7 separate regions of the Homo sapiens genome follow, and all the other regions are linked to region 1. The links are contacts of gene promoters, found by promoter capture Hi-C in blood cells and fetal thymus (Javierre and others, 2016). All regions are on one chromosome and are shown on one strand. The core of a region is centred on a gene start or on the middle of the fragment in contact, and the rest is flanking DNA. Distances in the headings are between cores, read along the strand shown. Region 1 holds the start of ARGLU1 (arginine and glutamate rich 1). Region 2 overlaps BIVM (basic, immunoglobulin-like variable motif containing). Region 3 overlaps BIVM (basic, immunoglobulin-like variable motif containing). Region 4 overlaps BIVM-ERCC5 (BIVM-ERCC5 readthrough). Region 5 overlaps BIVM-ERCC5 (BIVM-ERCC5 readthrough). Region 6 has its middle 94 kb from the start of SLC10A2. Region 7 has its middle 44 kb from the start of SLC10A2.

Region 1 (4,220 bases), core at 456-2,955:
ACTTCTTAGCCTTCAGAACTCTGAGAAATAATGTCTATTATTTATAAATCACTCAGTCTAAAGTATTCTGTTATAGCAGTGGAAATGGGCTGAGATAGGCACTAATTCCAGTTATGAGGTTAGAGCCCTCATGACCTAATCAATATCCCAAAGCCCCACCTTTTAATACTATTGCACTGGTGATTAGGTTTCAACATATGAATCTGAGGGAACACAAACTTTCAGACCCTAGAAGTGCCACTAAAAGAGAGCTCAGAGAGCTAGCTTTCCCCTTCTATCATGTGAGGGCACTGTGAGTAGGTGCCTTCTGTGAGTCATCTGTGAATCTCTGGGTCCTCACCAGCGACCAGATTGGCTAGCACCTGGATCCTGGATTTCCAACTTTCAGAACTGTGAGAAATAAATTTGTTGTTCATAAGCTGCCTAGTTTATGATATTTTGTTACAGCAGTCAACACAGACTAATACACTACTCTTCTTTGTTTCCAAGTTTTCTTGATAATTAATTATGTGATCTTCCATATAAAACTTAAAATTAATTAGTTCTAAAACACATATCCCCAAGAGAATTTGGGACTCTCATGAGAATTGCACTAATTTTGTAATTTGACTTGGGAAGAATTGACAGTATTTTTGATACTGACTACTCACCTAAGAATACAGCATGTTTTACATTTACTAGGGCCTTATTACTGCCTTTTCAGTAAAGGTTTATAATAAAGATTGTGTAACTTGTTAAAGTTTATCCCTAAGTATTTTATGGTTTCTGTTGCCATTGTGGAGGAAATATTATTTCATTTTTAATATGTTTTTGCTTATTCAAATAATTCTAATTTTTCTTCTACTTACTTAAGCTTTATTATTGCACTCAATTTTAAAATTGAGGCACCTAGATTTTCAAGGGTTCCTGTCATCTGCAAATATTAACATTGCCTTTTCCTTTTAGGTCTTAACAATGACACAGTTTGTTGTGCCACATAGGGACGAAGCTTTTCGTGGCTAGGGTTGAGGAGGGCTTGCTGGTTATGTGCAAGGGCTTTGCACAATATGATCTAGGTTCACGTCCCTGCTCTGTCACCTACTGGTTGTGTGACCCTTATTTAACCTCTGTGGACCTCAGGGTCCTCATCTCTGAAACGTGGATAATAGTAGTACTTAATTCAGAATTGTAAGAATTAAGCACTTGTTAATACATTAAAGCATTTAGAAGGCACATTAAGCCCTATAGTAAGCATTAGGTTACATTCATCAAAACCTGCTGCCTACTTACCTCCTGCAAGTCTCATAAGCACTTCAGAAAGTGTGGTGTCTCCATTCTACGAATGAGGAAACTAAGTCCAAGGCAGCAAGTGATGAGTGCAGGGTCACTTGGAGATACATTTTAGGGCTGCCCCACAAGACCAGCTCCTAGAAAATAATGCAATCAATCAACTTCTGCGAGGCCGGACTTAAATCCCACTAAAACGTGCTTAATTCATTCAACAGGCGTTGGCATCTTACCAGGGAGGAAAAAAAAAAAAAGAGTACGCCAAGGCGAAAAGGAGAGTCTCCATCTATTGCGTCTCAGGCTTCCGCCAAGACTGGCGGAAAAAAACGAGTCCGCTCCGAAGCGCTCGCCTGCCTTCGGCAAAAATCGTCAGGAGGCGGGGCCCACGCTTCGGCACGTTTCGCGCAGGGCATTGTGGGAAGGGCGGCCGGTGCAGCCGCAGCTGCCATCTTAGGGGCGCCTGGCGCTACGGGTTTCTCGTTGGAGGCGGCCTTCGTGGCAGCTGTAGACGCCGGGAAAAGGCATAAAGTCCGTTGGCCGACACCTTTCTTTCCTCCGGCCTCGGTAGAACCGCCAGCCCGCGTCCGAAGGCGGAGGCGAGGGGAACTGGCCGCGTGAGGGGCCTGAGGCGAGCGGTTAGAGCGTCTCCCGGAAGGATGGGCCGGTCTCGGAGCCGGAGCTCGTCCCGCTCCAAGCACACCAAGAGCAGCAAGCACAACAAGAAGCGCAGCCGGTCCCGGTCGCGATCCCGGGACAAGGAGCGCGTGCGGAAGCGTTCCAAATCTCGGGAAAGTAAACGGAACCGGCGGCGGGAGTCGCGGTCCCGTTCGCGCTCCACCAACACGGCCGTGTCCCGGCGCGAGCGGGACCGGGAGCGCGCCTCGTCCCCGCCCGACCGCATCGACATCTTCGGGCGCACGGTGAGCAAGCGCAGCAGCCTGGACGAGAAGCAGAAGCGAGAGGAGGAGGAGAAGAAAGCGGAGTTCGAGCGGCAGCGAAAAATGTGAGTGCCCGCGCGGGGAGGGACCGGGGCGTGCGGAGAGCAGGGCGCGGGGCGAGGGCGTGGGGCCGGGGCGGGACGGTGCGGGCCGGGAGAATGGCGGGGACGGTCCGGGGCTGGGGACCGGGCGCGGGAACGGGTCGGAGAGGCGGCGGCGGGGCGGGCAGGCTTGGCGTTTGGAAAGCTTGGGGTGGGACAGACCCAGAAGTTGTTCGGGATGGAAAATTCGAGGGCTTGAGCAGAAAGGGTTTAAGAGAAGGCGATTTTGGCGCGAGAGAGGAGTGGTGTCCCGGAAGTAGGGGTGGAGTTCGGAGTGAGGTCGGAGAGCTGCGTTGGCTTGTGAGGCCGGGAGCGAGCCGGCCTGCAGATGTGGAGGGTGGTGAGCGTTTGCTGGTCGGCTTGAGGAGGAGAGAGAAGGGAATTAACCTTTGAGATGCGAATCACAGCTGGCCAGAAGCATTCTATTGAAGCTCAAATTTGGGACAGGACTTAACTAATCTCGGGAATCATACACTTTAGGTGGTCCGCCAGAAAAATGCATTTTCACTTTAGTGTATTCCTGTTGTTAAGGTGTTGGGATTGCTTTTTTCCCCTTGAGCCTACACCCTCACCCCTTCCTTGAGATGTTAAAAAAAAAAAGCATAGACCTTAAGTGTACAGTGCGATGAGTTTTTTGACCTTTGAATTCACCTGTGTAATCACCATCCCAAAGCCTACCGCTTTTTTAACTTGCTTTCTATTCCTGTAGCAAACACGTGCAGTTTTGTTGTTTCCCTTACACTGTGCTTCTTCAGAAGACACTTGAAGGGTTGATTTTATTTTGGCGTTGCTCCCATGAAGGATATTTAGTGAAAACTAGAGTTAGAGTGTGTTTCCGAAAATGTCAGCTCTCAAGTATTTCTGGCTATGAAAGTAGATGTGGATAAATAATCCCAAACTAAAGGAATTTTTGGGTTTTAAAATTTAGGGATTTGTTGTGTGTTTTGCTTTATGATCATCGTACTTTGATGCTCTGGGTATTCAGTTTCCAAAAACCGCATTGAAAAGTAGATTTGAACAGTCCTACTAACTCCCTATTGAACCAGCCGTACTTGGTCAGTTCTTCAGTGAATATTTAGAAAGTGCTCATGAAGCAAGAACGTTACTGAATTTATGATTTTCTCGAGGCGAGTATATGTGTGCTGAATTGACTGCGTGGTTTGTAGTTTTCTGTAGTTGGGTTTGTGTTAGGTAGATTTTCCAGCACACACACACAGCTTGTTTCTAAAACCAAAGTTACTAAAAGGTAGGACTGGAGCACTAATATTACAGAGGAAGCTGTACCTGGAGCTGTTTTGCTTCCAACACTCCTTTAAAACACATGCAACACTCATTTTTCCTGTACTTAGAACTGTCAGTGATACATATGAAAACAAAGTTCAAGTAATCGTTTCAAATTAAACCTTGATTTTGTAGAATACAACTTTTGGGTCTGCAACAAGGCCCTTAGCTGTAAAGATCTCAAATAGCTATCAACAGATGGATGTATGAAAAGTTACCTAAGACATTGCTGAGATAATTTCTACATGTGAAAACAAAGGAGACCTCCAAAGAGTAATAACTTGCCTTTCACTAGAAAGCTAAGATATGTAGGAAAAATGAAAAGAAACTTGGTATGCAAAGAATAAATAGAAGCATTTAGCAGGTTTCGCATGTATAGCAGACAAGAAATTCAGGAATGAAATACGGCAAATAGAGGAGCTATATGGTTCTCTGGTTTGAGAGAAGACACAAACTGCCAATAGTATTTAGGAGGGAGAAGGGACCAGGACTAGCAGCCACCTGTACTCTAAATTCCTGGGTGCCGTACAATAGGCATTTTATTTAATATATTCTAATGTCTTGGAAACAATGCAAAAGAAACAATGGAAAGACTTAAGTGTTGGAGCTTTGGCAGTGTAAGGAAACAGTTTGC
Region 2 (4,220 bases), core at 758-3,257, 3.8 Mb after region 1:
AATTTTGGTCAATTTCAGCACATAGCAAGGTACAACTACCTATCCCCAAGTCCAAGAAACTGTGCATATGCTCCTGGAGAAGCTTCAGGCAGTTTGTGGGAACCATGGTGGGCAAAAAGGTCCATGTCCTATGAAAATTGGAAATCTGTGTTCTGATTGCTGACTGCTGCTTCTGATCTTGAAAGCACAGATACAGGGGGGCAGCCATTGTTGCAACTCTCCCTCCAATGTTGCAAGCCCCTCCCACTACAACAGAAGCAACTTCCAGAGGACTTAAGGGGCCAGCACCTTTGGTGTGGTTTTTTTGTTCTGTTTTTTTTCCTCTCCATTTTCTGTTTGGGGAGCCAGACATTTCAAAAACAGTATATTCAAAAGCAATCACTTATACAGGGAAATGTAGAAAATCACTGTACACACTCAGAGAAAGGCAGGGGCTTTTCCCTGAGAAGCCCTTAAATGTATACCTCAGGTTGATTACCAGCATAGAAACAGCCTATAGCAATCAAAAAACAAAAACTAAAATCAACAAACTCTGGGAAAGATGGGTATTGATTTCCAGAGTTACTGCATTATTAAATAATATTTGAATGTCTAGTTTCCAACAACAACAACAACAAAAAATCACAAGAAACAGAATAAGGCCCATTCAAAGAAACAAAAAAATATATAAACCAACAGAAACCATCCTGGAAAGACCAAATGGCAGACTTGCTAGACAAGGACTTTAAAACCACTATCTTAAAGATGCCAAAAGAACTAACGAAAGATGTATGTATGAAGAACATGGAAATATCAATGAAGAGATAGAAAACTTAAAACCAAAAATAAATTCTTGGGCTGAAAAATATAATAACTGAAATGAAAAACTCACTAGAGTGATTCAAAGGCAGTTTTGAGCAGGCAGAAAAATTAGTGACCTTGAAGATGGGAAAACTGAAATAATTGAGTATGAGGAACAGAAAAAAAAAGGTCTGAAGAAAAGTAAACAGACCTTAAGGGACCTGGGGACACCATCGAGTGGACCAACCTATACATTGCAGAAGTTCCAGAAGGAGAAGACACTGAAAAAGGGGTAGGAGATTATCCAAACAAATAATGCCTAAAAACTTTCCAAATTTGATTTAAAAAACATGAATATAAACATCCAAGAAACTCAACAAATTCCAAATAGGATGAACTTAGAAAGACCCACACCAATATATGTTATAATAAAATTGCAAGGCTGGGCACGGTGGCTCACGCCTGTAATCCCAGCACTTTGGGAGGCTGAGGCAGGCGGATGACCTGAGGTCAGGAGTTCAAGACCAGCCTGACCAACATGGAGAAACTCCGTCTCTACTAAAAATACAAAATTAGCCAGGCATGGTGGCGCACGCCTGTAATCCCAGCTACTTGGGAGGCTGAGGCAGGAGAATTGCTTGAACCCAGAAGGTGGAGGTTGTGGTGAGCCAAGATCGTGCCATTGCACTCCAACCTGGGCAACAAGAACAAAACTCCGTATCAAATAAAAAATTTAAAAATTGCAAAAAGACAAAGACTCTTAAAAGCAACACAAGAGAAGCAACTCATCACATACAATGGACTGTTAATAAGAATATCAACAGATTTCTCATCAGAAACTTTGGAAGCCAGAAGGAAGTGGGCTGATATATTCAAAGTGCTGAAATAAAAAAAAAATTCAAACAAGAATTCTAAATCCAGCAAAACTGTCCTTCAAAAGTGAAGAAGAAACTCAGACATTCCCAGACAAACAAAAACTGAAGGAGTTTATTACCACTAGACTTGCCCTGTAAGGAATGCTAAAAGGATTCCTGCTGGTTGAAATGAAAGGACATTAGCTAGTACCTCAAAGCCATAGGAAGAAATAAATTTACCTCAGTGAAGGTAATACACGAACAATTATAAAAGCCAGTGTTATTTTGTTAGTTTGCAACTCCAGTTTTTGTATTCTATATGATTTATGAGACTAATACATTTTTGAGAAATTATTATTAGCTTAAAAGCTAGTAGTAGGCCAGGAGCAGTGGCTCATGCCTGTATTCCCAGCACTTTGGAAGGCCGAGGCAGGAGGATTGCTTGAGCCCAGGAGTTCAAGACCACCCCTGGCAACATAGTGAGACTCTATCTCTACAAAAAAATATTAAAAATTAGCCAGTCGTGGTGATGTGCACCTGTAGTCCCAGCTACTCAGAAGGCTGAAGTGGGAGGATTGCTTAAGCCTGAGGTCAAGGCTGCAGTAAGCCATGGTCGTGCCACTGCACTCCAGCCTGGGCAAGAGAGCAAGACCCTATTTCAAAATAAAAAATAAAAATAAAAAAGCTATTATTATAATAACTTTGGTTTGTAACTCCACATTTTGTTTTCCACATTATTTAAGAGATTAATACATAAAAATTATTAGTTTATGTTTTCAGACACACAATATATAAATTTGTAATTTGATAACATCAATAACTGAAAGTTAAGTGTGGACGAAGCAGTATAGGAACAGAGTGTTTACATATAAATAACAAGTACTAAAATGACAAGTCTCTCCTTATCAGTGATTACTTCAAATGTAAATGGATTAAATTCTCCACTCAAAACATAGAGACTGGCAGAATGCATTTTTTTAAAAATATGTTTTTGTATACGTGGGTTCACACACAAAAACAGAAACAGAAAAAATTAGCTAACTATATGCTGTCTCTGAAACACTCACTTTAGATCTAGAGATACAAATAGGCTGAAAGTAAAAGGATGGAAATAAGTATTCCAAAGCAAATAGCACCCAGAAGAGAGCAGGGGTGGCTATAAATAAACCAGTCATAAAAAGACAAATACTATATGATTTCACTTACATAAGGTACCTAGAATAGTCAAATTCACAGTGACAAAAAGTAAAATTGTGGTTTCCAGGGACTGTGAGGAGAAGGAATGAGGATTTATTGTTTAATGGGTACAAAGTTTATTTTGTAAGATGAAAAGAAGGGCTGGGCGGGGTGGCTCACGCCTGTAATCCCAGCACTTTGGGAGGCCGAGGCGGGCGGATCACGAGGTCAGGAGGTCGAGACCACGGTGAAACCCCGACCCTACTAAAAATACAAAAAAGTAGCCGGGCACGGTGACAGGCGCCTGTAGTCCCAGGTACTCGGGAGGCTGAGGCAGGAGAATGGTGTGAACCCGGGAGGCGGAGCTTGCAGTGAGCCGAGATCGCGCCACTGCACTCCAGCCTGGGCGACAGAGCGAGACTCTGTCTCAGAAAAAAAAAAAAAAGAAAGAAAAGAAAAGGAAAGAGATTTGGAGATGAATAGTGATGATGGTTGCACAACAACGTAAATGTACTTAATGCCACTAAACTGTACACGTAAAAATGGTTAAGACAGTAAATTTTCTGTTATTAGACATGTATTAGTTTTTAAAAAAGAAATTAAATGGAGAAAAGACAACTTCACAATCATAGTTGAAGATTTTTAACACCCTTCTTTTGGTAATTGATAGAACAAGACACAAGTTAAGCGGAGACACAAAAGATGTGAATGACACTTTCAAACACTTCGACATAATTAATATTTATAGATACTCCCAATGACTGCAGAATGCACATTCTTTTCAAGTGCACATGGCACATTCACCAAGATAGACCATATGTTGGGTCATAAAACAAGTCTCAGTAAATTTAAAAAGACTGAGAGCATATGCCCTCTGTCCACAATGGAACTAAACTAGAAATCAATATTTAGAAAAACTATTAATATCTAGAAATTAAACAGCATACATCTAAGTAATACATGTATCAAAGAATAAATTGCAAAGGAAATTAGAAAATATTTCCAATTAAGTAATAATAATAAGCATATCAAAATTTGTGAGCTGCAGCTAAAGCAGTACTTAGCAATTTGGAGTATTCTATGCTTATGGTAGAAAAGTCTAAAATCAATGATCTAAGCTTCCATCTTAAGAAGTCAGAAAATGAAGAACAAAATAAACCCAAAGTAAGTCAGAGGAAGCAAATAATAAAGAGCAGAAACCAATGAAATAGAAAACAAACAATTGAGAAAATTAACAAAAGCTAGTTATTTGAAAAGATTAACAAAATTGATAAACTCCTAGCTAGATTGATCAGTTTTAAAAAAAATAGAGAAAATAAATTAATTACCAGTATTAGGATGCAAAAGGAGTTGTCAACAAAGATTCCTTAGATGTTAGAGGGATAACATTAACTTTAAGCCCCCAAATTT
Region 3 (4,220 bases), core at 681-3,180, 3.7 Mb after region 1:
CCAATAAGAGAATTCTGGTCCCTTTGAGATTATGTTTCTTACTTCAAGTTACTCTGTTAACATTCTGACATTCTGAGTTTGCTTAGTATGAGCTTGTCCTGTAGACCCTGATCATCTATAGAGGAATGCTAGATAACTCCATAAGAACTTATAGAGTATATTTTTACACCTTCAAAGACAAGAATAGCTTCTGAAACTCTGATAGGTAATCCAGCAATCTAACATTACTCTGCAAGGTCCTTATTCCCCTGACATCTTTTTTATTTTAAAAAAAAAAAAAAAGATGCCCAGGCTGGAGTGCATGGCACAATCTCAGCTCACTGCAACCTCCACCTCCCGGGTTCAAGCAATTCTCGTGCCTCAGCCTCCCAAGTAGCTGGGATTACAGGTGCACGCCACCATGCCCAGGTAATTTTTTGTATTCTTAGTAGAGAAAAGGTTTCACTATGTTGGCCAGGATAGTCTCAAACTCCTGGCCTCAAGGAATCCACCCACCTCGGCCTCCCAACCTGCTGGGATTACAGGCGTGAGCCACTATGCCAGCTTCCCCTGACATCTTAAATACAACTGGTACATGGAGGACAGCAGGGGAAGGCCAATTTGTGTCAGCTTGGAATGACACTAAGCAGTTTATGCTGTAAGCAAGCACCAAACAGCTCCTAAAGAGGAAAGGGGTATGTTAGCACTGCATGTTCAAGAGATTTATTATTTGTGTCTAATATTAATTGGAGAAAACCAGTACATGAGGAAAACAGAATACTAATGTATTGTCCACCGGAGATGTACTGAGGTGCTTCAGTAAGCTGGTAACAACAATCATGGTGAAGCGATGTGTGAGTTATACAGGAATGAGGCCAGAGACGGGTCTTCTCTGTTAAGCAAAAGTTATGAACTGCAATACCCACTAGAAAAAACTAAATACATGAATATAAATGCAATTTTCAAGCTAGCTGATTAAAAAAATGAGTCTGGACTTGCCTGGTGCAAATGTTGGTGGCTAAGTGAACCCATACTCGGAAGTTATCTGAACAGAGACCTAATGTTGGCAACTCCTAGAATAAATTTTCATTGTGACTAGTGACATCTCTGAAAAAAATACTGATATTAACAGCTAAGTCTTATCAAAATCCCTGGACTTCACTTTTATTCCATTAGTGTGCTTAGTTTACAGTTACTAAGAGCCCACTGGACATAAGCACCGGGGAGTCCCTGAATCACAACAGCGTGGTCCCCAGGAAAACGTAAAGCCCATTGTGAAAAACAGGCTTAGTGGTCCTTAAAAAACAATTTAAGCACAAAGAGAAGATAGATTTAAAAGTGTTTTTAAACAAATAGCGCCACTGACAATGGTTTTCACCAGTGAACATCCCAGAGAGAAATCAGAAAGCCTATCTCTGCAACTCTTTCTTCCACAATGGGAGAGAACGGAAGAGACGTCTGCTTTACACATGAACCACCCTACCGCCTGAATACCATCAGAATTCATAGGGTAACGTGTAATGTCGTGGGCATCATATCTAGCATGTAAGGGCTACTCAGAACAGTCCCTATGGTCAAGGAGCTGGACACTCACATTGAACAGGTGAAACATAATAAAACATAGCACATAGCAAATGGAAAATGATGGGTGTGAAAAATCAGTACTAGAGGAATTTAGAGGAATCCAGGGCTAAGGTGGCCAAGGAACATATCAGAGATGAAGCAGGGCTTAACTGGGTCCCCCAATTAGCAAAGGTAAAGACAAAAATATTCCAGGAGGCGTACGCAGATTAATTATCCTTCAGGAAATGCACACAGAAAAGCAGTAAAAAGTCGAATATTCTGGAAAAAAAAAATTGAAAGTAGGAATAAAACTTGAAAAATATATTAAAACTTACTCAAATTACAGTAAGCACCTCAACCCCCTAACAAAAGAAAACAAATTTAAGGAAAATAGGTAGTTTATCCCATTCCTCAATGAAAAGTTTGGATGTATGCTGGAGGAAATTTAAACAAATAGGTTAAAAAAAAAAAAAAAGTCATTGGGACCCAATGCTACACATCCTAGATTATTAAGGGAACTGGTTAACACATGCACCAAATCATTACATTTAAATAAGTCACAAAGAACTTGGGAGGTACCAGACTATTGGAAAATAAAATAAATAAAGTACAGATATTCAAAAGATCTACAAATGAGAATTTCTAGCAAAATTATAGTATAAAATCTTAAAGTTGGACAAGACAGTTGATCAAAAATCTTTTAAAATTCCAGAATAGTGATTCCTAAGTCAACTCTCTCCATGGCCCTTTTAGTGTTTTATTCCATTCCATTAATTATAAAAGTATATGTTCTTACTTTGGGAATTTGATTAAATGTATATAGCTGATGTTTCCTCGATACCCAGAGTTTCTTTGATAGATTTTCTCTCTTATTCTAATTTCTCTGGGTCTTCCTGCTTCCCTTAATTTCCTTTACTTTGACTGACCCATCTCTTCATCTATCCTCTCACTCCATCTAGATACTGCTGATATTAATAGAAAAAGCCATTAACTACTCAAATGAAGTCCTCTTCTAATCAGCAGGCAAAAAGAAAACAAGTAAAAGGAATTATGAGACTTGTTCTGGTGTCTCCCAGGGCCTTACTCATAATGCAGTCTTGGGACACAAGACTGAGAACTGTATTGTAATAGCTTTCCATTATATCCGACACGTAAGTATGACATTCGTTCCAGTGATTATTTCTATACTCCCAGACATGCATTTTGGTCCACACCCCATTAAAAGAGATATAAAGCCACCCTATGAATCAGTTAGGAAGTGATTCTGAGACAATCTTAATCTCTTACTATTTATAATGTAAAAGGCAATGTTCAAGGCACTGCTAAGATGTAAAGTTGAAAACTTCAGATTCAATGAGTTGGCTCATTTCCTGTCCTTAGGAACACACGAAAAACTGTCAACTGAGAGACTCCAGAAGACAGAAGGAGGACGCACTGGGTTCTGATGGAAAGCAGGGCAGATCTAGCACACAGGTGCAGGTGAGTGTGTGTCTGGGAGTGTGGGGAGGGGAGAGCAGGTAGGAGCCAGAAGGAAAGATGAGCTACAGAAAGGGAAAGAGAAAACATTTTCCTTTCCACATCACAAGAGAGAGCTCTTGCAAAGGAAGAATGCCAGCTTTGGAATGGACAACAAAATTCTCTCTTAGAAGTTTCGTAACCCCAATCTCCTGAATTCCTCCTGACTCATATCCTCAATTGCGAATTCATTAAATTAACTCCTACTGAGCACCTAAGTATCAGGCACTGTGATGCACAAATGAGTAAGAACTTGGCCTAATCCTCAAGAAAGGCAACTCTAGTTTTTCTGCATGAAACCATACGGTGCACCAAGAATTACCTCGCAATGAAATCAAAGTTCTACCAGAGGCACACATGGTGCTGTGACAACCCAGGAGACGAAGGGATTGAATCCTGCCTGGCAAGCAGAAGAAAAAGCCATCCCCCCAGGTTTTCACGGGACACCACCATATCCATTTGTTACGCTGAAGTCCAGGATGGACAAATAAATAGGAATCCACCAATCACAAAGATATGAAATCCCACATTCCACATGCTCCACAGCAGGGCATCCCATCAGTGAGGCACATAGGCCTAAGGATGACCTGTATCTTGTGAAGAACAGGGAAACATCGAGGAGCCCAGCATGGCTGAACACCAGGGGAGGTAGGCTGAAGCAGGATATTCGAAAGCCAGTCCCTCAAACACCATGCTCAGGAATTTAGGCTTCATCCTCTAGGTTAGGGTTTGGCAAACTCCCACCAACAGGTAAATCCAGTCTCCAGACTGCAGCCTGTGTTGAAATGGGCAGCAAGCTAAAATGGTTTTTACATTGTTAAAAATCAAAAGAAAATTGGGCCAGGCACAGTAGCTCATGCCTGTAATCCCAGCACTTTGGGAGGCCGAGGTAGGAGGATCACTTAAGGCCAGGAGTTCAAGACTAGCCTGGGCAATATAGTGAGCCCCCATCTCTAAAAATTTAATTGAAAAAAATTAAAAAATAAAATTAGTCTGGGCACAGTGGTTCACACCTGTAATCCCAGCACTTTGGGAGGCCGAGGCGGGCGGATCACAAGGTCAGGAGATCGAGACCATCCTGGCTAACATGGTGAAACCCCATCTCTACTAAAAAAAATACAAAAAATTAGCCGGGCATGGTGGTGGGCGCCTGTAGTCCCAGC
Region 4 (4,220 bases), core at 1-2,500, 3.7 Mb after region 1:
AGTTTAGCGCCAGTGGTGATGCCTTGGTGGTTACTTGCTTCCGTCACGCTGGCATCCTGAAGGCGTTAAGCATTAAAACAATGTGCAAAAGCGCCTTCTTGGTGGAGTAACGGGCTTTTGTTTTTGTTTGAGACAGGGTCTCACGCTGTCGCCCATACTGGAGTCCAGTGGCGCATTCTTAGCTCACTGCAGCCTGGAACTCCTGCTGCCCGAGCTCAAGCAACTTTCCCATCTCAGCCTCTCAAGTAGCTGGGACCGCAGGTGCGCACCACTATGCTTGGCGAATTATTTTTGTAGAAATGAGGTCTCCCTGTGTTGCCCAGGCTGGGAACTATTTTCTACACGCTTTTTTAGTATCGGTTTCTACCTTTGCGCCGCCGTGTGTGAAGATACTTAACACAAAGTGTTGTTTTACACGTGAAGAGACAACCAAAAGGTGGATGCCTTCTTGGTTTTGTACTATTTATTTATATGCTAGCACGTAGTAACTAAAGAATAATAAAATTTAAAGCCTGTGAAAATGTTAGGGTCCCAAAATTACTAAGCAAAAGGGAAAAGTCAAGCTGGGAACTGCTCAGGGCAAAACCTGCCTCCCATTCTAGTCAGTCATCCTTCTGCTCACTGAGATAGATGCATATTCTGATTGTCTCCTTTGGAAAGGCTTATCAGAAACTCGTATGCAGCCTTTTGTCTCTCATCTACCTGTGACCTAGAAGCCCTTCCTGCTTCCGAGTTGTCCCCACCTTTCTGGAAGGAACCAGTGTACTTACATATGTTGATTGATGTCTCCTGTCTCCCTAAAATGTATAAAACCAATCTGTGCCCCAACCACCTTGGGCACATGTCATCTGGACTTCCTGGGGCTGTGTCACAGCTGCGCGTCCTTAACGTTGGCAAAATAAACTTTCTAAATTAACTGAGACCTGTCCCAAATTTTGGGGGTTCACAAGCCTTAATCCTTGACATATAGTTTAGTTTTCTTCAGCATCTAAAAGTTATAATGCCGCGGCTTGTAGATCAGAAAGGACTAGAAATCAATTAACAGAGTAACCCCAGAAAAGGCCACAGCTCTGGAACCCTCAGGCCAAGATTCAAATCCCCGCATCGTGCCTCACTATGGTGTTTAGCATCCCTGAAGTCACAGTTGTTCAGAATTTGTGTCTCCATCAGTAATCAGGGCATAAAACCAACCTTGCAGACTTCAGTAAGTATTCAAGGTGTTACATGCAACGCACTTAGCACTAGTAACTATAAAGGATAGTATTAGCATCCATATTTGTTCAAATTGGAACGAAATTTAAACTCAGTGAAAAGGCTGACTTAAGGGAGCAGGCAATTTTTTAAAGACTTCTTTATAACAGAAGTATACGGGAAATTGATTTTTTTTATTTTTTTATTTTTTATTTTTTTGACAGGGTCTCACTCTGTCGCCCAGGCTAGAGTGCAGTAGTGCAGTCTCAGCTTACTGCAACTTCCACCTCTCAGGCTCAAGTGATGCTCTTGCCTCAGCCTCCCGAGTAGTTGAGATTACAGGCCCCCACCACCACGCCCTGATTTTTTTTTTTTTGAGACAGGGTCTTGCTTTGTTGCCCAAACTGGTCTCAAACAATCCTCCTGCCTCAGTCTCCCAAAGTGCTGGAGTTACAGACATGAGCCACCGTGCTCCGTGGAGAAATCCATTTTTAGCAAAACCACTTCTATGCTCAATAAGATGGTTCACAGTGGCCATGTTTGGTTGACCTAGTCACATCTAATTTGCTACAGGAATAATCCTGACAAAGTGTTTTTTGCATTTCCTCCATATGTAAAGTAATCCCCAGAAACTGTTCCCAGTTGTTATTTTACTGAGAGTAATATAACTGCCTGTTCAGTATTTGTCTCTTCCCCATGGTAAACTGTAAACTTACTGAAACGAAGAACGATTTTCGTGACTGCTACATCCCCCAATCCTGGCACTTAGCAGTTCTGTAAATATTGCCTAAATGACCTCTTAAGCCTCTAGTCTAAAGCTCTCCAGTGCACCTTGCAGTCTGCTGAAAGAATCTGCTTGGAGGTTAGGCTGATCATTCATTCAGATCTCATCTGAACCATATGTTGCCTTGTGTTATGGTCTGAATTGTGTCCTCCAAAATTCATCTGTGGAAGCCTGAGTACCTCAGAATGTGACTATCTGAAGACACAGCGTTTAAAAATGATTAAATTGAAACGAGGCCATTAGGATAGGCCCTAAATCCAATTTGACTGGTGTCTTTGTAGAAAGAGGAAATTGGGCCACAGGGAGAGACTCCAGGGATGATAGGCACAGAGGAAAGGCCTTGTGAGGACACAGTGAGAAGGCGGCCCTCTGCAGGTGAAGGAGACAGGCCTCAGAAGAAACCAAACCTGCCTGCTCCTGGACTTCTAGTTTCCAGAACCATGAGAAAACAAATTTCTGTTGTTTACGCCACCCTGTCTGTGGTGTTTTGTTATGGTAGCCCTGAGAAACTAAGACACTGTGATCCTAGGCAGGTTTCTTCACCAATGAAACCCTCAGTTTCTGCCAGTAAAATTAGAATGCGACCAACATCTTGTTGTTCTTGTTGCTGCTGAGCTATTTAAGAACTGACCTGGTAATGGTGTATAATTTAGTTTGTTGAGTGAATCGCTGGTACAGGAGGGGTGGGAGTGTTATTGGTAAAGTTGAGATGCAGAATGTGATGGATCCTAGAAGAGCTGCCTGAGCCCCTCCAGTCTGGGAGAAGACAAGTTGGCAAGTATTTTGGGTGCTGCACCAACTTGGCCTAATGATGGCACACAGTTCTTTAACAGTAATAGCAGTAGGGAAAGGAATTGCTGCAGAATTTGATCTAAATAAACTTTTTTTTTTCTGCCTGTGAGCTGGGTAAAAATAAATAGCCAACATAGGCATTTGAGTATTGTAAGTACTTTTAAAACCAAAGCAAAGGCTGGGCATGGTGGCTCACGCCTGTAATCCCAGCACTTTGGGAGGCCGAGGCAGGCAGATCACTTGAGGCCGGGAGCTCGAGACCACCCTGGCCAACATGGTGAAACCCAGTCTCTACTAAAAATACAAAAATTAGCCGGGCATGGTGGTGCATGCCTGTAATCCCAGCTACTCGGGAGGCTGAAGCAGGAGAACCACTTGAACCCGGGAGGCGGAGGTTGCAGAGAGCACCACTGCACTCCAGCCTTGGCAATAGAGCGAGACTCTGTCTCAAAAAAATAAAGCAACATTCTTGAATATGAAATATTCTTTTGAAGAAACAGCAACTAAGGGGTGCATATGTGATTTAAAAGGAATTAGCTCCTTAAGATGCTATCTAAAGGGCTCTCTCTAAAGACTCTGAATAGTAAAATTCACATCTTTTGGAATAATAGCAAGCTCTTAAATAGCACTTCCTATCTACAAAGCACTGTTCTAAACACTACATGTATTAGCTTATTCTTCAAATTCATTTATAAAGTAGATACTATTACCCCCACTTTACTAATGAGGAAATAGGCACAGAAAAAAAATTAACCTTAACTTGCCTATATCACTATAGGTGATATAGCTTGTAAGTGCAGAGCCAGTATTTGAACTTTCACTGTATCTATAGGATTCCTAAGAGCTGACCAAGAAATCAAATATCAAGGGAATTTTACTAATCTTCTAAGAGAAGTATGCAGTAACTCTTGCTTACAGCTTCTGCGGGAAAGATAATCTCACTAAACTCAAACCTCATTGTGCTCTTAATAACTGGAAAGCCAAACTTGGAAGCCAAACTTAGAACAGATCAAGACTTTTATAAAAATTGATTATGGTCAATAGTCTGAATAACTCATCCTGTTTTTCTAGGTGTCTCCCTATCCTTTAATTTCTTATTTTATTTTGCATTTTTCTCCTTTCCTCTTGGTTCTTCCTACCTACGTCTTCTCTGAAATATTCAGTTGAACTGTATGAAATTGCTAATATTCAACCATTTTTGACCTACAAAGATGACAACTTCATTTGGTTCAAGCTAATAAAAGAATCAAATTTTCTATTTCCTATTAAATTAGAAATCTAAAATTACAGTCATCATAATGCATATTGTTTCATTAATTATAAAAGGCTCAAGATGGTTTCTTACAATGTACCAGTTGAGCAGAATTGACAAATTATCATGTACTTCAAAGACACAATGGTACCTTCTACCTAAAACAAAGGTTTAAAAACATTCATATAATTAAAAGTAGAA
Region 5 (4,220 bases), core at 504-3,003, 3.7 Mb after region 1:
TCCTCTCCTTTACTGTTATATTTTTCTATTTGGCACTTACCACCAACTGTCAAATTATGATTTATGTATCTGCTTATCATCTGTTTCTCCTACTATTTTACTCTCTGTTCCTTCCCTCTTGTTAAGAACAACTGGCATATAGGAGTCACCAAACATATATTTGCTGGATGAACAGAAGAAGATCAGTGCCAGAAACCCGAATACAGGCCCAGGCGCGGCCTGCTTCCCCTCTCCACCACCTTTTGTTCACTGTGGAGATCTCGGGTAACTAGTCAAAGTTTAACTAAGTCAGTTGATTAACTACCTAAACATACTAGGACTTTAATTCCTTAATTCAAATGTTTAAAATCCTATTCCTCTATATAAGCCAAAGATCACTCATATAAAAATTTGCATAGACCTGCAATTTCCATCAATGCATCAAACTAGTTCCTTGGAAAGAAAACTTCCTAGGACAAACTCTGAAGGTAAATGTCAGAAAGTAATCAAAAAGACTCTGAAGTCTTACCCAATTGATTGTGAAAGTCCACATATTGATAATATTCTACAAACTTGTTTTTATTAAAAAAGTTTCTATAGACATGCCGCGCTCCAAACAGCCAGATATCACTGTCATCAGTGATGGTTCCGGAAGTCTGATCAGTCAGGTCCAGGATGGCGCACTGCGCCTCTGCTTCCATGGGAGCCTGGATGTAGGGAATGCCGAACAGGCGCAGGAGTTCCTGCAGAGTGAGGGGTACACAGTGACGCCCAGGGAAGGGCACCGCCAGGCCCTGAGCACAGGGGGAGCAGTGCCTACCACTTCATGTAATGCATTCATTCCTGCAGAGTTAGGGACACACAGTGACCCCCAGGGAACGGCATCACCAGGCCCTGAGCACCAGGGGGCACAGTGCATACCCCCTTCATGCAGTGCATTCCCCCAGGGGTCTGAAGAAGGTGGTAAAGGAAACCCAAGCTGCCTGCACCCACCTGGCTTTCCAGGAACATCTGTCCGGTGACAGTAGCAGCGATCCGTTCTTGCTGCTGTTTTTGAGCTTTCAGTGAATTCTGCTGTGCTAAGAGGTTGCTCTCCAGAGTTTCCAACTCCTCCTATAAAATGTTTTTTCATTTATAGATTTATATTAATAATCCAAATGAGTTTTGTTTACAAAAAGCCTGCATTTAGTCTGACTGAAATTACCAATAAGCTCTTTCTCCTTAGGAAGTACTCCACTGGATGTCTAACCAAGACTCTGTAATATCTTTAGAGATTCATCACTAAACCACATGGAAAACGGAGTCTATCCCAGCCAGTAACCTACACAAAAATGAAGCCATCAGCAACCACAAGATGTACTGCAAATAGCTACTAAATACTCATCCACCAACTCCTTAAAACTCAAAACCTACTTAACCTGGCTTCCTCAGCAAGAAGTCGAAACACAATGTTACGGTATTACCAAATTAATATCTTGCCATTCATGGAGCGAATCTTCCGCATCTTTCTCAGCTTCCTGTGGCTCACCATCCACGTCGTCCCTCTCAGAGTTGTCCCTCAGGAGGCTCTCGGACTCAGCAGGGGCTTCTCCCTCCCTAGTTCCTACCAGTTCCTCTTCGCCTTGTTCTGAGGGAGGTTTGGAAGTTTCAGGGAATTCTGCTTGAAGTTCCTCATCACTAATCACACTTTGCACTTCAATGAAACTTCCTGTACCAAAATTAAAAGGTCACTTCATCTACAATCAAAACATTAAAATGATCCTGCAATCATCAAGAGCTTTCTGGAGGAACCTGAAAAATGCTACATCCTAAAAAGGAAAGATATGACTATAACAGAATACATGTAATAGTAGCGTTATTAATAAATAAATGTAATCACAAATGCCTGTAACTTCAAAACAAGCCTTTTCAATTAGGTAAACTGGCACTGTCTTTGAAAGTAGGAAACTCTCTTAAGATTTGTATATTCGCTTTATATAAATATGTTCTAAGTTAACTGACATTGTTTTAAAAATTCAAAAAGGAGGATTATCAAAGTATATAAACAATCATGGAAGTTGCTCAGTATGTTTTTATGCTATTTACACAGCACAGAATAAAGCTGTGACTAAGAAATAGTTCTTCCTCTTCCACTTCCCTTCTCTCCTCTCTTACTGTCTTACTGTCTTTCCTTCTCCTTAAAATATATTTAATGGTTGCCTTCCTTCCCTGTAGGTGGAGAGGGCTGGCAAGGCCTGTCCAGCTGGGTTTAAGGAGACAATCAGAACAGAGGAGGGGGCTCTCAGGGACTGGGAGCTGGCACCAAGGACACAGCTGAAGCAAAGAAGAGAGCAGGGCCAAGGAGGAGGCCAGTGGGAGGGGGAGATGGTTACATATCCAGGGAGAATAAGCAGATGTAAATGTATTGAGGATAAGGGGAGCAATGTTTCTCATTGTTAGGGAAACTATAAAGAAGCAGGAGGCTAGACTGAACCCCATGGAATTGCAGATGTCAGTATAAACTCATGGATTTTAGTACAGATAGACATAGAAATAAATATAGATGTGTGTGTGCATGTATATGTATACATAAATATACTTCCTGGCACTGTTGCTGAAAAGGCCTGAGACAGTTATACCTCAGGATCCATAAGCACACTCACATCCAGCTTGTGGTGTCTAAACCCCATGCTCCACTGAAAGGAACCAGAGCTCCCTGGTGAAATGGCTGGTTCCAGGACCAGGGCAGAGAAAGTACAACATATGCCTGAAACAGCTTGGCCAGAAAGCAAGGAAAAGCTCAAAATATAATGAAAAAACTGCTGAAAGCCATTAGAAGGAGCCCCAATGGCCAAAGCTGTGATAATTTGAGTAACAAAGTAAATTATGACAGTATTGGATTATAACTCACTAAATAGGAATACAGGAGTCTACACTGATTAAAAATAATAAAAATAAATGGGGAGAAGGAAAAGATCTTCCTCATAGGAGGATGTCAAGTAATAATATATAAGGAATGATGGAGTTAGAAAAACCATCATTTGGCAACCAACGTAGTAACAAATTATTCAGGTAAACATCAATGGATGCTAACAAGTGGGTGGAAGTTTGTTCAGGAACAGCATATTTATATAGCTCCAAAAATTCCTTTTCCACAAAATACTTATTAATTACAAAAGGGAAATAGTAACATTTGAATGAAGAAAACTAGCAGATACCAGGAACAAATTGTGTGTGTGTGTGTGTGTGTGTGTGTGTGTGTGTGTGTGGTTGATTCTCTTATTCAAAGTGGCCATCACGTATGAAGTCTCTGTGAACACTAAATTAGCCAATACCGAGTCATTGCTCCTAAACATATCTATGTGCATATACACACATATGCATATATAACATATATATGAACACATTTCATATATATTATCTTAAATCCTAAAAAACCACCATCTTAATAGATTCCATTTATTTTATAAACAAGAAACAAAGTTCAAGAAACAAATTAGTGACCTGTGTGAAGCTGCCACGCTAACAGGTGCCAGAATAGGGATTCAAATCTGGTCCAACTGGCCTGGGGCCGGAGCTTCTTGCTCTCTCTCCATTGCATAATCCCCTACTGTCCCCACCCTCTGGTCATCTCTCTCAGAACACGGGAACCAGGCAGAGTGTCACCTTGCTTAACCTCAGCAGGGGACAGTGTGGCAACTCAAGCTTTTCCCCAACTCTGCAAATGTCCACAAATGACCACAAAGACATTGCGGTGAGTACTGATTTTGGAGTTATAAATAAATTTTAGTGATCAGGCAATTTTGCAAATATGGAATCTACAAATAATGAGGATCAATGGTATACATATGTATACAGATTTGGAGATATATGATATACATATAGAGGGCCACAGAGAGACCAAGAGAAATTCTAAGCTAATGTGGTAACATGCTAGCCACTGAGGTACTGGATGAAGGAACCAGTGTTTTATAATATTCTTCCAACTTTTTAAAGTTCATAATTATTTCAAAATAAAAAGTTTTTAAAAACTAGAGGGAAACTCAACTTTACCTTCCCCAAATAGGGCACTTCATGCCTTTAAAAATGATAACAAAAAGCAGAGCAACACAGGGAAGGTCAAGATTCCATGACCAGCTGTGACTCCCTGGGAAAGTCATTTCATCTTTCTTTCTACGTCTCTCGTTCCTTATCTGTAAAAAGTTAAAACGGGACTACACTAACCGATCTCTGAATTCCTACAGAGGGGAAATCCTACCGTT
Region 6 (4,220 bases), core at 1,026-3,525, 3.6 Mb after region 1:
TATGTTAAGGATGATTTCCTCATCCTAGAGAAAGTAAGGAGAGGTTTTTATTTTAAGGAATTTTTAAAAAGAAAAAGAGGAAAAATTATGAGTTTTTAAGAGTTTTGAGTTTCTGAGTTGTGATGCAACTAACTCACACTTCTTGGAGCATAATCCTAACGAGATGAGGGTAAAATCCATTCAACCAATACTCATTCTCTAACATGCACAAGGAAGAAGGCTGGCAAGTTTTATTCCCATACAAGCCAGTTTAGGTCACAAAACAAAAGACACAGCCAGACACAGGGTTCCTAAATACAGCTGGAGGGAAGTTGGAAAGAAAATATGGATGGATGGCTGAGTGCATGTTCACTGTATCTTGGAAAAAGAACACAAAGCCCAAGGAATCATTAGCTTCATGTTTTTAACTCTCTCTCTCTCTCTGTCTCTCTGTCTCTCCGTCTCTCTCTCTCTCTCTCTTTCTCCTCCCTCTCTCTCCCAGTTATCTTGTGACATGACCAATTGCTGAGTTGCTATTCATTATTAACTGTTTTCCTTCAAGGTCAGTGATTGCCCTGAGTGTGATGACAGTGCTCAAGGTAACGCACGATTCAGATCAACCTTGAAATGTTGACCCATCATAAGTTCAGTGTAATTAAAAGGTGTGCCTATGCCCATGCCCGCTGTTTGAAACCTAATGTCTCTGCACTTACCCAGAATATCTGTCTGTGGATTTTCTTCATGGGCAGTTTTTACAAAGCACTAAAAATCTGCATGAAATTAATGACTGCAAATTAGCTTGAGCAAATTTCTTAAATTAACTCAGTAACAGTTCTGATTTAAATTTAGGAAGAAAGGGGCTTTTTATTTATTTACAGCCAAAGAATATAAGGTAAATTCAAATAATTTAAGATCAAACTACTGCCCTGTTTGTGAAGTCTGGGGTTTGACATGCAGCGGTGGGTTTTGAAGAATGGTTCCTTCGAGTTATTCTGACCACAGCTGTTTTCAGTGCAATTGATTTTTATTACTAATGGGATTGGTGCTCCTCAACATACAATGCAGAGAGAGAGAAAACACGATAGCGAGAGGGTGGAGGAGAGAGAAAGACATTTCCACTGAAACTACTCTAGGACAGTCTTACCACTCCCCTCTAAACCTCACTCCAGGACGCCAGGATGCATGTTGGCAATTTATGTCTCACAGGGCACTCAAGTCCATCATTTCAGAGACAAGAAGCAAAATCCTTACTCTAAGAGAATAGTTGATTCCTCCAAGTTTAGCAGGAAACCAAACTGAAACGGTTGAACTTGAACAAGGAAACATGCTTAAGAACCAGGAATATGTCTGGATAAACTAACTGCATTTCAATAAACACCTTTCTTGGGGTTTATTCTTTAACATAATCAGAGCATCTAAAATATCTCTGTCACCCTGAATGGCAAAACTAAAAGTAAATGACCAAATAGATGTATGTTATGAAAGAAAAGCTTACCCAAAAATGTGGAACCAACCTAAATGCCCATCGACTAATGAGTGTATAAAGAAAATGTGGTATATACACACCACAGAATACTACTCAGCCTTTAAAAGGAATGAAATAATGTCTTTTGCAGCAACTCAGATGGAGCTGGAGGCCATTATTCTAAGTGAAGTAACACAGGAATGGAAAACCAAAACCATATGTTCTCACTTAGCTCTCACAAGTGGGAGCTAAGCTATGAGTATGCAGAGACAAACAGAGTGATATTATGGACTTTAGAGACTCAGAAAGGAGAGGATGGGAGGAGGGCTAGGGATAAAAACTACACATTAGGTACAATGTACACTACTCAAGTGATGAGTGCACTAAAATCTCAGATTTCACCGTTATATAATTCATCCATATAACAAAAAAACACACGGACCCCAAAAGCTATTGAAATAAAACAACAAAAAGAAAAAAAAGAAAAGCTTGCCCAGGTAGTGACTAAGATGGTCTGCAACTTTTTCCATCAGAGCTTGGAGACAACGAAGGAAGCAGAGTAACACTGATCAAATCATTCCATAATCTCCAATGCATGAGCTCAGTTCCAACAATACTGTGACCTTCCGGGCTATTCTCCAAACTTTAAAATACTGCTACTCATCTACAAATGGAGATTCTAATACATACCTTCCAGGATTGTTGTGAGGATTAAATGAACGTGAAGCTTAGCACCAGGGCTGGCAGGCAAGAAAGGCTCAATGGATAAATGTTGCTGTTATTACTGTCGCATCTGTAATTTTTTTACTCTTTAGTACTTAGCAATAAATTGATTTTATGGTAAACATGTATATTTGGCCACAATCATTTTCTTCCATGCATCCAAAGCATACAAAAATTTATTATTTGGCAAAAAGTAAATAAATAAAGCTTTTATTTATTTATTTATTTTGAGATGGAGTCTCGCTCTGTCTCCCAGGCTGGAGGGTAGTGGCGTAATCTTCACTCACTGCAACCTCCCACTCCAGGGTTCAAGCGATTCTCCTGCTTCAGCCTCCTGAGAAGCTGGGATTACAGGCGCCCACCACCATGCCCAGCTAATTTTTGTGTTTTTAGTGGAGACGATTTCACCATGTTGGCCAGGCTGGTCTCAAACTCCTGACCTTGGGTGATCCGCCTGCCTCAGCCTCCCAAAGTGCTGGGATTACAGATGTGAGCCACCACACCCAGGCAAAATAAATCTTTTAATTCAGTGACTCTAAATAAGACCTCTCTCAAAGAGTATATGTTGAATGCCTCCTGCAATCCAGGCACTGTGCTAGGCTGAAAGATTAAAATCCCAGGTGATCCGGCCAGGCGCAGTGGCTCATGCCTGTAATCCTAGCACTTTGGGAGGCCGAGGCGGGTGGATCACCTGAGGTCAGGAGATCGAGACCAGCCTGGCCAACATGATGAAACCCTTTCTCTACTAAAAATACAAAAACTAGCTGGGGGTGGTGGGCGCCTGTAATCCCAGCTACTCGGGAGGCTGAGGTAGCAGAATCACTTGAAGCTGGGAGGCGGAAGTTGCAATGACCCGAGATTGCGCCATTGCACTCCAGCCATTTGGTACTGAGTCCAGCCATTGCACTCAGTACCAAAAAAAAAAAAAAAAAAAAAAAAAAAAAAATCCCAGGTTATCCAAGTCAGCATCAGTTGATGCAAGTTTTTCTGTGGCAATAGAAGGATGAATATTGAGTGATTCCACTTATGTGGGGGATCTGAAATAGTCAAACTCATAGAAACAGAAAGTAAAATGGCAGTTGCCAGAAACTACAAGAAAGGGAAACAGAGAGTTACTGTTCCACAAGTGTAAAGTTCCCACAGTTACAAAGGTGAACACCTGCTGCTCAGCAAGTATAAGCTCTAGAGATCTGCTACGCAATATTTCACCTATGTGTCAAGTGGGTCCATCTCATGTTAAGTGCTCTTTCTCACCAAGATGAAATAAGTAAATTGCTCTTAAAGATGACCTGTGGCTAAGGATGTTCTGAGACTGAAGAACAAGCAGCCTAGGCGAAGTCAACTCACAACTTCAGAGGCCTTGCCAGTCCAACTCTAGACAAAAATAAAAAAGTAAATAAATGAAGCTTTCAATTTAGCAAGACTAAGAAGGTCTCTCTCAAAATGATACAGGTGTACTCCAAGTAAATGTAGGCCAAACAGGAATGTAATAAGTCAATCACGGAGAACCTATCAGCAACTGAAAGTCAAGAAGATAAAAATATAAATTCACATAATGGAAAGAGAGCGTCAGGCAACACTAAGCAATTAGGACTGATGGTTATTCTATTGCCAAAGATCTCAAAAGATAAAAGCATGGTCTAGTCCTCGGTTTCCTCACAGAGGCCCAGATCTACTCACTTTTTTTCACCCATGCTGCTCCCAGTGTCTTTCAAAGCACGTTTGGCTCAAACATATACACATTTGCAAGCTTGCCAAGGCCTTCGAGTACACATGGATGTTCTAAATGATAAACCAGTGCCAGTATTAGCTTTAACTAACACTGAACGCTTTGGGAAAAGTAATGCATGACTAGCTTATGTGGTCTTTAATACTGTTTATTGTCTGCCCCTTTTTGACATCATTCCCTAAAAGAGCCCAATTTAATTCACAACAAAAAGTTGCTATGTGCCATACCAGGTTCTCCTTATAATTATTCATAACATTTTAGGATAATTTTTATGGCTTTTATGACTGCACTAGCCTTCTCAACCTCTCACTTTTACATTTTGAA
Region 7 (4,220 bases), core at 1,128-3,627, 3.5 Mb after region 1:
TTTTTTTGGATATGACCTCAAAAGCAAAAGCAAATAAAGCAAAAATAGACAAATAAGATTACACCAAATTCAAAAGCTCATGCAAGCCAAGGAAACAATCAACAGAGTGAAGAGACAACCTACGGGATGGGAGAAAATATTTGCAAACTCATACATCTGATAATCATTTAATATTCAAAACATACAAGGAATTCAATTCAGTAGCAAGAAAACAAATAACCCAATTAAAACATAGCTAAAGGACCTGATTAGACATTTCTCAAAAGAATAAATACAAATGGCTAGTAAGTATAAACCAAAATGCTCAACATCACTCATCATCAGGAAAATGTAAATTGAAACTATAATCAGATATCATTTCACACCTATTGGAATGGATATTATCAACTAGATGAAAGATAATTGCTGGTGAGTATATGGAGGAAAGGAAACCCTTTCACGTTGTTGGTGGGAGTAAATTAGTGTAGTCATTATAGAAAGCAGTATGGAGGTTTCTCAAAAATATTAAAAATAGAACTACCATTGGATCTGGCAATCCCAATACCGGGTGTATATCCAAAGAAAACGAAATCAGTATGTCAGAGTGATATTTACACTCCCATGTTTACCGCAGCATTATTGGCAAATAGCCAAGATACCAAATCAACCTAAGTGTTCATCAATGGATCAATGGATAAAGAAAATATGCTAAATATATGCAAAGGAATACTATTCAGCCTTAAACAAGAAGGAAATTCTATCAAGTGAAATAAACCAGGCACAGAAAGACAGATACCACATAATCTCACATATATGTGGAATCTAAAAAATCGAACTAATCCAAGTAGAGAGTAGAATAGTGATTAACAGGAGCTGGATACATGGGGGTTTGGGGAGAGGTTGGTCAAAGGATACAAAATTCCAGTTCGAGAGGCAGAATATATTCCTAATCAATTGTACAATGTAGTGACCATAGTTAATAACAGTACTATACTTCGAAAAATGCTAAGAGAATAGATTTTAAGTGTTCTCACCATAAAAAAAGGGATAAGTATCTGAGGTAATGGATCTGTTGATTAGCTCTATTGAGCCTTTCCACAATGTATGCATAATCTAAAACATCACGTACAAGATACTACAATTTTTAGTTGTCTATTTTGAAAATAATTTGTATGAGGTTTGCAGAAATAGAAAAGTGAAGATTCAGTCATTTAACAGTACGAACCACTTTAAAGGAATCTTAGATTTTCAGAAGTGAGTCCTGAAGAATATAGACTCAGGCAACAGATGTTTAGTAAAGCCATCCTCAGTTTTCTAAGAAAAAAAAAACATACACATACAAACAAAAAACAATGGTCAAGTCCTGAAAGGGTATCTTTTGCTTAGGAATTTCAGTAATTGATAGATCCAGGAAATCTCACAGAGGAAAAACAGATTTCCAAATGAGTCATTCCATGGAAATGGTTCGGTGGAATGGCTACATTCCTGAGCTTGGCTTCCCAGAGGTCTCCTTGGCCAGAAATGGTGGACGGCAGCAGGAACTTCTCAAATCATGCCAAGATCCTGGGACTGACCTGGAATGGAACCATAGAGAAGCTGGAACAGAAGCTGTTTGTTCATTTGCCAACATTTACCTCAGTATGAAACTGCCAAATAAAAAATGCCAACAAATTTTTAAGAGAATTCCCCTTGGCTGCACAACAATAAGAAAAGGACCGAGTAAAAATTAAGATGTAAATATTTACAATGCCCTTTCCTGAGCTCAGTGCACAGAATCTTGCCTAATGTTTGATAGCAGGAAGCATCCTTTCATCAATTTTGTGTTATAATCAACCTTATGAATTAAGAATAAAACCTTAAATCAGATCATGATACACAGTTGAGGCTATTTCCCACATAGGCACACCAATGCTGGAAAACATAAACGTTTAAAAAAAAGAACACCAATTTGTAGGACCTAAGTCCAGAAAATATAAGGATAAATATACATCTTACTTATTAAGCTTTATGTGCTTTTCAACTGAAGGCCTTGTTAAAGGAACAGTCAAGTATAATTACTTGGTTATTGGACCAAAAATAAAGTATAATTTTCTATATATATGTGTCACAGAAAGAGGCCACTTGGGATAGTGGCCCAAAATTGGGTATACAGGAGATTTCAGTAGAGATGCTTTCATTATTGCATTGCAATAAAGATTTACAAGTTAATCAAATGCCATGAAATGTTTCTTGGATAATCTATGCAGCCAACACTGCATTGACGAGTAGGTGTTTAAATTTACAGCCTCAAAGCAGTGGAAGTTTGCTGACAGATACAGCACAGAACATCTTAGTAGGAAAACACCCTTGAAAGCAATTCTTTATTATGTTCTCAACATCCTCTTTCCCACCTGTGCCTGTAGCCCCAGGAGCTGCCAGCCCTTCAGTAATGACACACAATCTATTAGCTTAAAACACTGAGGCAGTTGGACAGGAGCTATCTTTGGACTAAAGTACATTGTCTGTCTGCTGTTTACCTCTTAACTCATGCCTTGTTATGCCCACGTACCCTGCGGTCCCCTTTTAAGCATGTTTGCCTATGCATGTAATGGGAGTGAGTGAACAGGCTTGGTTTGGGAATTCTCCCAAATAGCTTCATTGGTGATCTTAACCAGTACTATCCAACTCAACTCCTAAATGTGAGTAGACCACAAAGAAGGCAGTATGTCCCCGGTAGTCTAATTACATTGTTATTTAAGCACATTCTGTTCTTTTTAATATTTTGTTTTTATCTTTTACTGTTATTAAGCTTAATAATGTAATACCGTATCTGATATTTTAAATTCTATATATACACCAAAAAAAGGAAAGTTGAAGGAGGAGGTCAGACACATAAAAGTGTGATATCTCCAGTCAGAGCCAAATTCCTAAAGGGTTAGCCCATTAAACAGCCAAGCAAAATAAGACACAATCGGTGCTAACTTCATTTTCAAAAGTTCCCACGTGTAGGTTTTATAAGTGCCTAGAGGGATGAGTTAGCCTCAATTGTGTCTTGTTTAATTTGGCCACATAAAGGGCTAACCCTTTTCTAACTTGGCTCTAGTTGTAGATATCTCACCTCTAACGTCTGAACTTGATTCTTAACTTGGCTTTTTCAGTGCACATTAAATGTTTCTGATTTGGTATCACTCTAAAAGAATTTGTAAGTGGTTTCTTTGCACTATGTCTGGACGGATTGGGGTCAGGTGTGATTGGTGGGTTTCCACTGTTAAATTATTCCACGCTCCCTCACCCCCACCTAATGGCTACACCTTCTGAGTTCATCTTCTGAGTGGGAGGCCAAAATATCCTGAGATCACGTACTGGGGAACTTAGATATACACACTGCAATTGCAACAAAACAAAATTGATATCTTACTTTGTTGAATAAATGTGTTGTCTTTGCCAAGAGCTTCTGATTGACAATTTTAACTTGAGAAAAAAATAAAGAGAAATTGTCTAATCTAGTAGATAGAATGCAGAAATTAAGTCACTATTTCTATTTCTCCATGTGTTCAATAGACTACAATTTATTACAGAATTCCCTAGTTTATGATTTAGCATGAAGAAATACAATTGGAATAAACCTCTAAACTCCCTCATAGAAATTAACTGCATTCGTTTCCCCCTAATGCACACACACCAAAAAAGAATTTAATCCTACCTGTAGAGATTCATAAAACACAAGATAACCTAAATTATTATAAGAAAAAAGAAAACTTGTATAAAGATTCATAAAATGGAGTAAGCAATGAGTAGATGAACTACAAGTCTTAGAGTCAGAAAACTGCATCTGTACACTGAGTTACGAGTTTTATAACCAGTGGTAAGTCATTTGACCTCACTGAGCCTCCATTTTCTTGTGCATAAATAAAAATTATAATAATTTCTACCTCACTGACAGAATCACATGAGACTACAAACATGAAAGTGCCCTGTAGAGTATAAATTCCAATAACATATTTCACAAATACTATAAAAGAATTAGAGAATGATTAAGTGTTAAATTACAGTGTGACTATAACTGCGAGAGTTCAGAGAAAGGATAGTCCTATGAGTTGGAGATTAGAAAGTGTGCTTTGGAACAGGTGTGATTTGAGGTGGACCTTAAAGGATCTGTTCAATTTGAGCAATACAAGGAAAGAAGAAAGTTCTCTGAATAAGAGAGATAGAAAAGGAATCAGGAGAGGGAGAAGGCTGGCGAGCAGCAGAAACAGATGCAT

The links. Contacts are between HindIII fragments. The CHiCAGO score rates a contact against its expected background, and 5 or more counts as called.
Region 2: a fragment that was not itself captured here is called in contact with the fragment with the promoter of ARGLU1 in region 1 in 8 of 17 cell types (naive CD8 T cells, total CD8 T cells, M0 macrophages and 5 more); the score reaches 13.2 in naive CD8 T cells.
Region 3: a fragment that was not itself captured here is called in contact with the fragment with the promoter of ARGLU1 in region 1 in 7 of 17 cell types (naive CD8 T cells, naive B cells, total CD4 T cells and 4 more); the score reaches 10.6 in naive CD8 T cells.
Region 4: a contact is called between a fragment that was not itself captured here and the fragment with the promoter of ARGLU1 in region 1, in 14 of 17 cell types (total B cells, total CD4 T cells, naive CD8 T cells and 11 more). The highest score is 35.2, in total B cells.
Region 5: a contact is called between a fragment that was not itself captured here and the fragment with the promoter of ARGLU1 in region 1, in 13 of 17 cell types (total B cells, activated CD4 T cells, naive CD4 T cells and 10 more). The highest score is 26.8, in total B cells.
Region 6: a fragment that was not itself captured here is called in contact with the fragment with the promoter of ARGLU1 in region 1 in 1 of 17 cell types (total B cells); the score reaches 11.1 in total B cells.
Region 7: a contact is called between a fragment that was not itself captured here and the fragment with the promoter of ARGLU1 in region 1, in 2 of 17 cell types (total B cells and naive B cells). The highest score is 8.2, in total B cells.

What each region holds. Positions count from the first base shown.
Region 1 is chr13:106,565,622-106,569,841 of GRCh38, reverse strand. ARGLU1 (arginine and glutamate rich 1) reads left to right here and starts at 1,705. Exons shown (of 4, transcript NM_018011.4): 1 at 1,705-2,269. The coding sequence starts at 1,923. RefSeq lists enhancers at 1,564-1,633, 1,644-1,763, 1,439-2,349 and a silencer at 2,244-2,543. The HindIII fragment of the contact is 1,462 bases long and covers 991-2,452 here.
Region 2 is chr13:102,808,823-102,813,042 of GRCh38, reverse strand. All of the region lies in intron 3 of BIVM (basic, immunoglobulin-like variable motif containing), which reads right to left. The region is part of intron 1 of BIVM-ERCC5 (BIVM-ERCC5 readthrough); the gene reads right to left. Among named protein-coding and RNA genes, the nearest start is that of BIVM-ERCC5, 3.8 kb to the right of the region's middle. The HindIII fragment of the contact is 3,846 bases long and covers 85-3,930 here.
Region 3 is chr13:102,825,073-102,829,292 of GRCh38, reverse strand. All of the region lies in intron 7 of BIVM (basic, immunoglobulin-like variable motif containing), which reads right to left. All of the region lies in intron 5 of BIVM-ERCC5 (BIVM-ERCC5 readthrough), which reads right to left. Among named protein-coding and RNA genes, the nearest start is that of ERCC5, 19 kb to the left of the region's middle. RefSeq lists an enhancer at 2,982-3,483. The HindIII fragment of the contact is 5,979 bases long and covers 1-4,220 here.
Region 4 is chr13:102,841,522-102,845,741 of GRCh38, reverse strand. All of the region lies in intron 9 of BIVM-ERCC5 (BIVM-ERCC5 readthrough), which reads right to left. BIVM (basic, immunoglobulin-like variable motif containing) reads right to left here. Exons shown (of 11, transcript NM_017693.4): 11 at 4,209-4,220. Among named protein-coding and RNA genes, the nearest start is that of ERCC5, 2.4 kb to the left of the region's middle. RefSeq lists enhancers at 1-111, 322-371, 1-780. The HindIII fragment of the contact is 8,959 bases long and covers 1-4,220 here.
Region 5 is chr13:102,863,134-102,867,353 of GRCh38, reverse strand. BIVM-ERCC5 (BIVM-ERCC5 readthrough) reads right to left here. Exons shown (of 23, transcript NM_001204425.2): 17 at 1,443-1,687; 18 at 973-1,092; 19 at 509-722. It overlaps ERCC5 (ERCC excision repair 5, endonuclease), which reads right to left. Exons shown (of 15, transcript NM_000123.4): 9 at 1,443-1,687; 10 at 973-1,092; 11 at 509-722. Among named protein-coding and RNA genes, the nearest start is that of ERCC5, 19 kb to the right of the region's middle. RefSeq lists an enhancer at 467-1,666. The HindIII fragment of the contact is 3,824 bases long and covers 1-3,665 here.
Region 6 is chr13:102,969,846-102,974,065 of GRCh38, reverse strand. No RefSeq gene overlaps it. Among named protein-coding and RNA genes, the nearest start is that of SLC10A2, 94 kb to the left of the region's middle. RefSeq lists an enhancer at 3,163-3,362. The HindIII fragment of the contact is 203 bases long and covers 2,174-2,376 here.
Region 7 is chr13:103,019,836-103,024,055 of GRCh38, reverse strand. No RefSeq gene overlaps it. Among named protein-coding and RNA genes, the nearest start is that of SLC10A2, 44 kb to the left of the region's middle. The HindIII fragment of the contact is 785 bases long and covers 1,985-2,769 here.